Regions from separate parts of the Homo sapiens genome. Here all the other regions are linked to region 1. The links are contacts of gene promoters, found by promoter capture Hi-C in blood cells and fetal thymus (Javierre and others, 2016). All regions are on one chromosome and are shown on one strand. The core of a region is centred on a gene start or on the middle of the fragment in contact, and the rest is flanking DNA. Distances in the headings are between cores, read along the strand shown.

Evidence for each region. The method cuts DNA at HindIII sites, captures the fragments that hold promoters and counts their contacts. A CHiCAGO score of 5 or more calls a contact.
Region 2: a contact is called between a fragment that was not itself captured here and the fragment with the promoter of RNF170 in region 1, in 2 of 17 cell types (total CD4 T cells and total CD8 T cells). The highest score is 5.9, in total CD4 T cells.
Region 3: a fragment that was not itself captured here is called in contact with the fragment with the promoter of RNF170 in region 1 in 3 of 17 cell types (total CD4 T cells, total B cells and activated CD4 T cells); the score reaches 5.6 in total CD4 T cells.

The regions. Positions count from the first base shown.
Region 1 is chr8:42,895,307-42,898,295 of GRCh38, reverse strand. RNF170 (ring finger protein 170) reads left to right here and starts at 1,691. Exons shown (of 7, transcript NM_030954.4): 1 at 1,691-1,812. It overlaps HOOK3 (hook microtubule tethering protein 3), which reads right to left and starts at 1,318. Exons shown (of 22, transcript NM_032410.4): 1 at 1,108-1,318. The coding sequence starts at 1,164. It overlaps MIR4469 (microRNA 4469), which reads left to right and starts at 2,021; the gene lies at 2,021-2,099. RefSeq lists silencers at 700-759, 770-1,559, 1,740-2,099, 1,895-2,106 and an enhancer at 2,013-2,574. The HindIII fragment of the contact is 5,948 bases long and covers 1-2,989 here.
Region 2 is chr8:41,582,139-41,585,082 of GRCh38, reverse strand. The region is part of intron 1 of GPAT4 (glycerol-3-phosphate acyltransferase 4); the gene reads right to left. Among named protein-coding and RNA genes, the nearest start is that of GPAT4-AS1, 5.2 kb to the right of the region's middle. The HindIII fragment of the contact is 3,575 bases long and covers 1-2,944 here.
Region 3 is chr8:41,522,810-41,525,809 of GRCh38, reverse strand. No RefSeq gene overlaps it. Among named protein-coding and RNA genes, the nearest start is that of GINS4, 5.0 kb to the left of the region's middle. The HindIII fragment of the contact is 1,945 bases long and covers 620-2,564 here.

The sequences.
Region 1 (2,989 bases), core at 442-2,941:
TACCAAGTCTGTTTCAGAGGACAGAAATTGATTCGTGACGTAGCCAAACTATAAAAACCTCAGACTATTTTTATTAATTTTTTTAACAACCAACGTAAGGCAATACTTCTCCAGCCTTTCCAGCAAAGTGCCTTGCACAGGATCGTGACGTCTACACTCCAGGGATCCTGACTCGTAACCCAAGACACCGCTAAAGAGAATTTCTCTCACATTCGTGTTTTACCTTTAAAAGTAATACAAATGCTGTAGTAGCCTTCATAAACACATCCGTAAACATTTAATTAACATTCTCAGCAATGAGTGAAACGGAGGCTCCCGAAGGCAGCGCGGGGTCCGCCCGGGCTCTGCGCATCCCTCCCCCTCCCCGGCCGCGCCGCGGCGAGAACGACTGGAACCCGGGCGTCGGTTCCCCTGCCGCGTCCTGAAGACCCGGCTTCAGGAAGGCGCGGCAGCTGACGTGAGAGGTGAACATGTATTTACTTCAAAGTATGAGGAATCTAAAACCGTTTAAGAATTCAAAATCAGAATCCCACGACTCTGTCCCCCAAGGCCTTCGAGTTCCATTGTTGACGCCCAGACACCTCCAGACTCCTTTAAACGTCTGCCCGACGCCTCTGACAGGCGTCCGCCCCTCGCGCACTCCCACCGCCAGCGGTGCCTTGCATCCGAAACGGGGTCCCCGGGCGCCTCCCGCATTCTCCCCACGCTCCCTCACAGGTCCTTTCAGTTCCCGGGCCGGAGCCGGGCCCGTCCTCCGCGAACGCGGCAACAAAGGCGAGGAGCGGCGGCGGGTCCTGGACGCGGGGCAGTCAGGCTCGGCCACCCCCAGAGCGCAGCGCAGCCCCAGCTGCGAGCAGCCGCACGGATCCCAGAGTCGCCCGCCGCGTTCCCAGCCCAGCCCCGGCCGGGGTCCGCCCGGAACAGCGACGCCTCAGGCCCGGCAAGTCTCTCTCGGACCCTGGGCCGAGCCTCCTCGCCCCGCCCGCCCCAGGCCCCGGATGTGACGGCACCGTCGCCCGCAGCGCTCGCCCCACGGGCCGCGCGTGGAGGGTCCCGGTAGGTGGCGGGGGGAGGGGGTCTTCCCGCCGGCCCGCGGCCCCCACGTACCCAAGTGAGGAGGCTCTCGCACAGCTCCGCCCGCTCCAGCGACTCTACGCTGAACATCTTCCCCGCCGCGGCCAGGCAGCGCCTACCGCCTGGCCAGACACCGCCGCCGCTCTGTCGGGGGATCCGGGGGCCCGCGCAGCTGACTCGGCCTCAGGCCCGCCTGCTCCTCGGATCCGGCCGCCGACTCTCGCCCAGCGCTGGCAGCGGCTCCGCACCGTCACCCCCAGCGCCCCTCCTTCTCCTTTCACTCGGGACCGCGCGCCAGCCGCGCGCGACTTCGGACACGCCCGCCGCCCCGCGTCCCCGCCCCCGGCCGCCCACACCGCTCCTCCCCAGCGCCGCCGCCCTGGCTGGAGCCGAGGCCGAGGAGCCACTGCGCACGCTCGCGCCCCGGCCGACCCGCGCCGCCGCGCCGCCGCCGCCGCCGCCGCCGCCGCCGCTGCCGCCGGGCGCGCCCCCGCCACCAGTTCGCTGCGTGTCGAGGCGAGCACGCGCTCCGCCCTGGAGGCTGCGGCGACGGGTCCTCCTCCGCCGTCCGGTCGCGCCCTCGCGGAAGCTCGGCAGTGCGCGTGCGCCCGCACCCGCACTCCAAATTAGAAAGGGGACGTCTAGTGGGTTGCCCGGGAGGGGTGGCGGGAGCGGTCCTGGAAATAATCTGTCCTCTGTCGCCGGGAACTGGCGAGGTAGTTCCTTCGCGGTGGAGAGGTACGTCCGGCGCGCGGCGGCCACGCCCACCCTATCGGGGCCCGCGGAGCCGCGGACGGCGGGGTCTGGCCTTCTTGGGGTAGCTCTGGCCGCCGAGGCTCTGCGGGGCGGCGGGAGTCGCCGCCTCCTTCCCCCCGGGCCCCTCCCTCGTCTGGAAGCCCCAGAATCGCCCCGCGGCTGTCCGGAGTCGCCGGCGACGGTGGAGGGGCCGACGCGGAGAGCGGCTCTAGGTGGGTTTGGCGGCGGCGAGGACACCGCCGCTCCCTCTAGGGTCGCTCGGAGCGTGACCCTGAGAACTCTCCTTAATGCAGGAGGGGTGTGCGCCCGCTCGCCAATCCGTAAGGACACCGGCCGACCCCGGGCCTGCGTTTCTCAGCGTTCGGAGTTGCCTTCGCTTAATGGCGAGGCGGATCGTTCTGGAGCTTCCACCTCTTTAGAGGCACGAATCTGTCTGCTGGGCTGCCGATAAATTTTTAACAGATATAGCATACGCAGAAAAGTGCATACGACATACACGTTTAAAGAAGAATTAATAAAACACCCAGATAAAAACGAAAAGGGCATTACCGGCACCCCAGGAGTTTCTCACCCATGCCCTGTGCTCCTTTCGGAGCCTGATTGTCTCCTAGCCTGACTAGTGTGATCATTTCCTTACAGCTTTACCATCTATGTGTGCATGCGATGTCGTTTTCCTTTGCCTGTTTTTGAACTTTTGCGGGTGGATCACAGTGTGTTGTTTTGTGGTTTTCAATCAGTATTAAATTGGTGTACTGTGTATGTATAGGTAATTTTAATTGTTGCCTAGTATTCCAGTGTGAATAGAACAGTGAATCCATTCTACTCTGGTTGGGCATTTTGTTCAGACTGAGGCCACTCAGAACATGGCTATAAACATTCTAGTGTACCTGGAACGTAGTGCAAATATGTTGGAATTTCCAGGACATGCACTTTGGAGTCCTTAGAGAATTGTCGATGCGTAGAGTATGCATAACTACCACCCAATGCCAAATTTTTATTTGGAGTGCAACAAAGCTAACTTCCCAAGACACACTTTGCTTTGTAGTTCCTGGAACCCCTTTCCCCCACTTTTTTTCCATTAAGAGTAGGTTTTCTCATTGAGCACTGAAAACTGCCAAGACAGCATTGAGTGGGGTTTTTTGTTGTTGTTGATGGTGGT
Region 2 (2,944 bases), core at 79-2,578, 1.3 Mb after region 1:
GGGAAACTGCATGTTTCCAAACAGGGCAGCTCTCAGAGCGACTCAGTTGACATGAACCTGAAGTGCTAAAAACCCAGAACACACATAGCTGGCATCAATCCTGGATAAAATAAATTACCCAAGACAAAGCCAGGATCCAACTGGCCAAAGGATGATTCAACTCACAGAGAAGACAGAACATGGTCAGGTTCGGGGCCTTGGTCTTATCTAAGATCATTATGCCCTCCAGAACTTTCTTGAGTTAGAACTGGATAAGTAACACGGCACTGGTACCAAGTTCACCCCAAAGCAACGGAACCATCTCTTGAAGCTGGCAAAACAAAAAACAGAAAACAAAACCAAAAAAAAGAGGCTATTTTGATGATGACAATTTGATTTGCTGGAGCTTTAAGACCCAAGACAATTCATTATTCGACCTGAACACTGCTCTGATGGCTCAATTTCAATACCAGTTCTTGAAATCTGAGTACTGCATATGTAATTAGAAGCAACTTCCTGGCCTTTTTCTTGTTCAAAAAATCTTTTTATCCAATTTACTTCACTCAGCATAATTATACTGAGAACCATCCATGTTGCTGCATGTGTCAACAGTTTATTCCTCTTGATTGCTGAGCTGTATTCCAGTATATGGATATACCCGTTTCTTCATCCATTCCCCTACTGATGGACACTAAGGTTGTTCCAGTTTGAGGCTATTACAAATAAAACTGCTATCTACAAGTCTTTGTATGGACATATACTTCATTTCTCTTGGGTAAATACCTAGGAGTGGAATGACAAATTCCAAAATGGGTTGTACCATTTTGTATTCCCACTAGCAGCGTAGGGAAGTCTCACTTGTTCCACATCTTCACCAATACAGTCTTTTAAATTTACACACATCACTGGCCAGGCGCAGTGGCTCACACCTGTAATTTCAGCATTCTGGGAGGCCGAGGTGGGCGGATCACTTGAGGACAGGAGTTCAACAACAGCCTGGACAACAAGGAGAGACCCCATTTCTACTAAAAATACACAAATTAGCTGGGCGTGGTGGTGCATTCCTGTAATCCCAGCTATTTGGGAGGCTTAGGTGGGAGGATCACCTGAGTCCAGTCGGCTGAGGCTGCAGTGAGCCATGACAGTGCCACTGCACTCCAGCCTGAGCAACAGAGCAAGACCCTGTCTTAAAAAATGAAACCTTTTCATCACAAGCGCACAAATTCGTGACAGCAGACTTTTTTGTTCATCTCTCTGCAAATTCAAAATACTTCTAATTGTGCAAAGAAAATCACTAAAACATGAAAGAAAAAACCAATGACCACAACCACAAACTCTAACCTCAGACCTGAACATTACTAAGCAAAATAAAACATTCCTTCATCTTTATGTTCCACTGACAGTGATTCTCTGCAGTCCAACAGAGCAGCCACTAACCACGTGTGACCTTGGAGCACTTAAAATGTGTTGTGAATGTAAAATGCACACTGGAGTTCAATGACTTAGCATGAAAAAAATGCATGTAAAATATCCCATTAATAATTTTTATATTGATTATGTTTCAAAGTAATATTCTGGATAAACTAGGTTAAATAAAATATATTGTTAAAATTATTTTCACCTGTTTCTACTTTATACAATTTTTTTAAAAAAATTTAAATTGACTTTCAAATCAAAGTCAATATATAGGAGCTAAAAATGATCTCATAGACAGTAGAATATAATAGATACCAGCAGCTGGGAAGGGTGGACGTTGAGAGCTTGGTTAATGGATAGAAAAAAAAAACTTAAATGGAACGAATGAGTTCCAGTATTCAATAGCAAAGTAGGATGACTATAGTTACCAATTTCTTGTACATATATATATATTATTTTTTTTTTGAGACAGTCTCATTTTGTGGCCCAGGCTGGAGTGCAGTGGTGCGATCTCTGCTCACTGCATCCTTTGCCTCCAGGTTCAAGCAATTCTCGTGCCTCAGCCTCCCTCATACCTGGGATTACAGGCACAGGCCACCACAGCCGGCTAGTTTTTTTTGTATTTTTAGTGGAGAAGGGGTTTCATCATGTTGGCCAGGCTGATTTCAAACTCCTGACCTCAAGTGATCTACCCACTTTGGCCTCCCAAAGTGCTAGGGTTACAGGCATGAGCCACCACGTCAGGCCAATTTCTTGTATATTTTAATTTGAAATGTTAAGTAGATTTGAAATGTTCCCAACACAAAGAAATGATGTATGTTTCAGGTGCTGGATATCCTAAATACTCTGATTTTATCATTACACATTCTATCCATGTGGGCAAATATTACTGTACACTATAAATACGTAAAATTACTGTTTGTCAATTTCTTAAAAATTGATACATAATTTTACATATGTATGGAGCACAATGTGATGTTTTGAGATACACCCACACACACACACACACACACTCTCTCTCTCTCCCTCCCCTTGTGGAATGATTAAATCAACCTTATCTATTTCTTTGTGCTTTTTAAAAAAGCATTATTATAAAATTTAAAATTGTGTATATAGCATATATAATATTTCTATGGGACAGCACTGATCAAAAATTTTTAAAGGAGACTCAAAATAATGTATCTTCAACTGGCAAAGAAAGAAAGAAAGATGTGTGTGTGTGTGTGTGTGTGTGTGTGTGTGTATACTTTCCCACCCTATTTCTCCAAGGTGAAGAAAATGGTACAGCAGAAAGGGCTTAGATCTGGAACCAGGACTGCCTTTAGGTTCTAGGTGCAACTCTTACTGTCTAGTCTATGTGTCCCTGAATACATCATTCAGCTTCGGCCACGTGCAGTGTCTCACGCCTGTAATCCCAGCACTTTGGGAGGCTGAGGTGGGTGGATCACCTGAGGTCAGGAGTTCGAGACCAGCCTGGCCAACATGGTGAAATCCCATCTCTACTAAAAATACAAAAATTAACTGGGCGTGGTGGCGCATGCCTGTAATC
Region 3 (3,000 bases), core at 343-2,842, 1.4 Mb after region 1:
CCATCGCGCCTGGCTAATTTTTGTATTTTAGTAGAGATGGGGTTTTGCTATGGTTGCCAGGCTAGTCTCGAACTCCTGACCTCAAGTGATCCACCTGTCTCAGCCTCCCAAATTGCTGGGATTACAGGAGTGATCCAACCGCGCCTGGCTAATCACACCACCTTTTACACAAAATTAATATGTGTCTGCCTGAAGACAGAGGGACAGACCAAAAAATTGAGGGACCCGTTTCACTTCTAAGATCTTTGATTACAACTAATATTCATTAGACAAAAACACTTTTAGAGGAAATGAGTTGGCAGAAAAATATTTCTGCTGTGTAAAGAAGGGTTATTAAAAGAAATGCCAAAGCAACACACAAACTTTTGGTGTTGATCGTTTGGCACTGTAAAGTTCAGGAAGGTGGGAGAAAAGAGGTCTTCAATTACATTATATAGAATGAAGAGAAAAATCAGGAACACCTGGTTGATGTGCACCCACTGTCAAGAAGTGTTTTAGAAATAATAAGATAGCCATATAAATGGAATGCAATTCATTAAAATGATCACAGATAAAAGGTGATTACATAGATTATTATATTAGGAGGATGAAGTTTGTGGATAGAATTTGCAGGCAAGCTTAGATGATTTAAATTGCAAGATGAACATACTAACATGAATTCAGACAAGTAAAACATGAAGTTACCTCGAAAGAGAAGGAAAAAGCTACTGCCCAAAGTGGAAGAGGAAGATACAGAAAATAGGATCCTATACAACTGAAGAAAGTGACAAGCCACAGCAATATTCAGATATTCTCAGTGAAGATGTTAATGGAAATTATAGACACAGCAAATAGAAACAGCCAAAATATTTGTGGACAGCCATACGTTATTATTATTATTACTATTTTTTGAGACAGAGTCTCACTCTGTCGCCCAGGCTAGAGTACAGTGGCGTGATCTCGGTTCACTGCCAGCTCCGCCTCCTGGGTTTACGTCATTCTCCTGCCTCAGCCTCCCGAGTAGCTGGGACTACAGGCGCCTGCCACCACGCCCGATAATTTTTTGTATTTTTAGTAGAGACGGGGTTTCACCATGTTAGCCAGGATGGTCTGGATCTCCTGACCTTGTGATCCGCTCGCCTCGGCCTCCCAAAGTGCTGGGATTACAGGCGTGAGCCACTGCACCTGGCCCAGTGGTACATTATTTTTATTTTTTGAGACAGAGTCTCGCTCTGTTGCCCAGGCTGGAGTGCAGTGGCATGATCTTGGTTCACTGCAACCTCTGCCTCCCAGGTTCAAGCGATTCTCTTGCCTTGGCCTCCAGAGTAGCTGAGATTACAGGCATGTGCCTCCATGCCCGGCTAATTTTTGTGTTTTTAGTAGAGATGGGGTTTCCCCATGTTGGACAGGCTGGTCTTGAACTCCTGACCTCAGGTGATCCGCCCACCTCAGTCTTCCAAAGTGCTAGGATTATAGGCATTGCACCTGGCCAAAAAGATACATTATTAATGAGAACAAATTTAATGTTTTAATCACCAAGGAAAAACAACAGTAAATACTGTATATCTATACAGAATTGTGAGCTTTCTGGAGAAAGATGCTTTCAGAATACAAGTAATGGCATTATTATTGTTCTCATATCAGTGCCCTTGCTTGTTTGGTCAGCAGCTGTTTCTCAGGGGTCCCTTTTTCTGAATTCCATCACAATCTTGGTCTCACTGCCCTGGAAACCAAAGAATTAAGATTTGGGAGTGTTTTAGTTAAGTTGAGTTTAACTCCCGGTTTTTCTGAATGCATGAAGATTGGCACTACAGACAGCCATGTAAGAGGACAGCTTGCATTTTTTTTTTTTTTTGAGACGGAGTCTTGCTCTGTTGCCAGGCTGGAGTGCAGTGGCATGATCTCGGCTCACTGCAATCTCCGCCTCCTGGGTTCAAGCGATTCTCGTGCCTCAGCCTCCCGAGTAGCTGGGGCTACAGGGGTGTGCCACCATGCCTGGCTAATTTTTGTATTTTTAGTAGAGACAGGGTTTCACCATGTTGGCCAGGATGGTCTCGATCTCCTGACATGATGATCCACCCGCCTTGGGCTCCCAAAGAGCTTTAAGGAAGGCAGAAAAGTGTGCTTACGCTGTTTTCTCTTAGGCTCATAAGGAAAGCTATTGGCTGGTGAACTTATACGTATTTTTCTGGCCAATGATAACACCCAATGCCAGCTGCATGGCCAGGATGCTGGAGAACTCAGGAAGCCGGGCAAGGCTTGGGTCTCCCTTACAAATGGAAAATCTGGGCAATTTATGATATTCCTAATTCCTTTGCTCTCCTCAGACCCTAGGTCCTCTGAAACTCTGTAAGGAGATATAAGAACTATCTGCCCCTTTGCTTGTTGTAGAATATACAATAATCATAAAAAATTTTTAAAAATTAAATATATCTTATGAAACACTGTGGCCAACATAGCATGTAGCTGGTTGAGTAAGATTATTTTCCTAATGCTTTTCTGAATATGTCAAGCAAAGAGAAAGGTGACCTTTCCATAAAGAAATTCATGTGCCTTTATATCATGGGCATCTTTGATGAGAAGCTTATGTGCCCAAGTGTTGGGCAAGTCTTATTTATTTATTTATTTATTTGTGATGGAGCCTCACTCTGTTGCCCATGTTGGACTGCAGTGGCATGATCTCGGCTCACTGCAACCTCTGTCGCCCGGGTTCAAGTGATTCTCCTGCCTCAGCCTCCTGAGTAGCTGGGATTACAGGTGCCTGCCACTGCGCCCCGCTAACTTGTATATTTTTAGTAGAGACGGGGTTTCTTGGTCAGGCTGGACTTGAACTCCTGACCTTGTGATCCACCTGCCTCAGCCTCCTAAAGTGCTGGGATTACAGGCATGAGCCACTGTGCCCAGCCTAAGGCTTCATATTTATTAAAGTCTATATAGTTTAGCTGAGAGATCTTGAGGGACTTGTCCTAAGGTCTAAATAAAAGCCAGGCCAAATTCAATCTCTCTTTCTCTCTGGCTGGA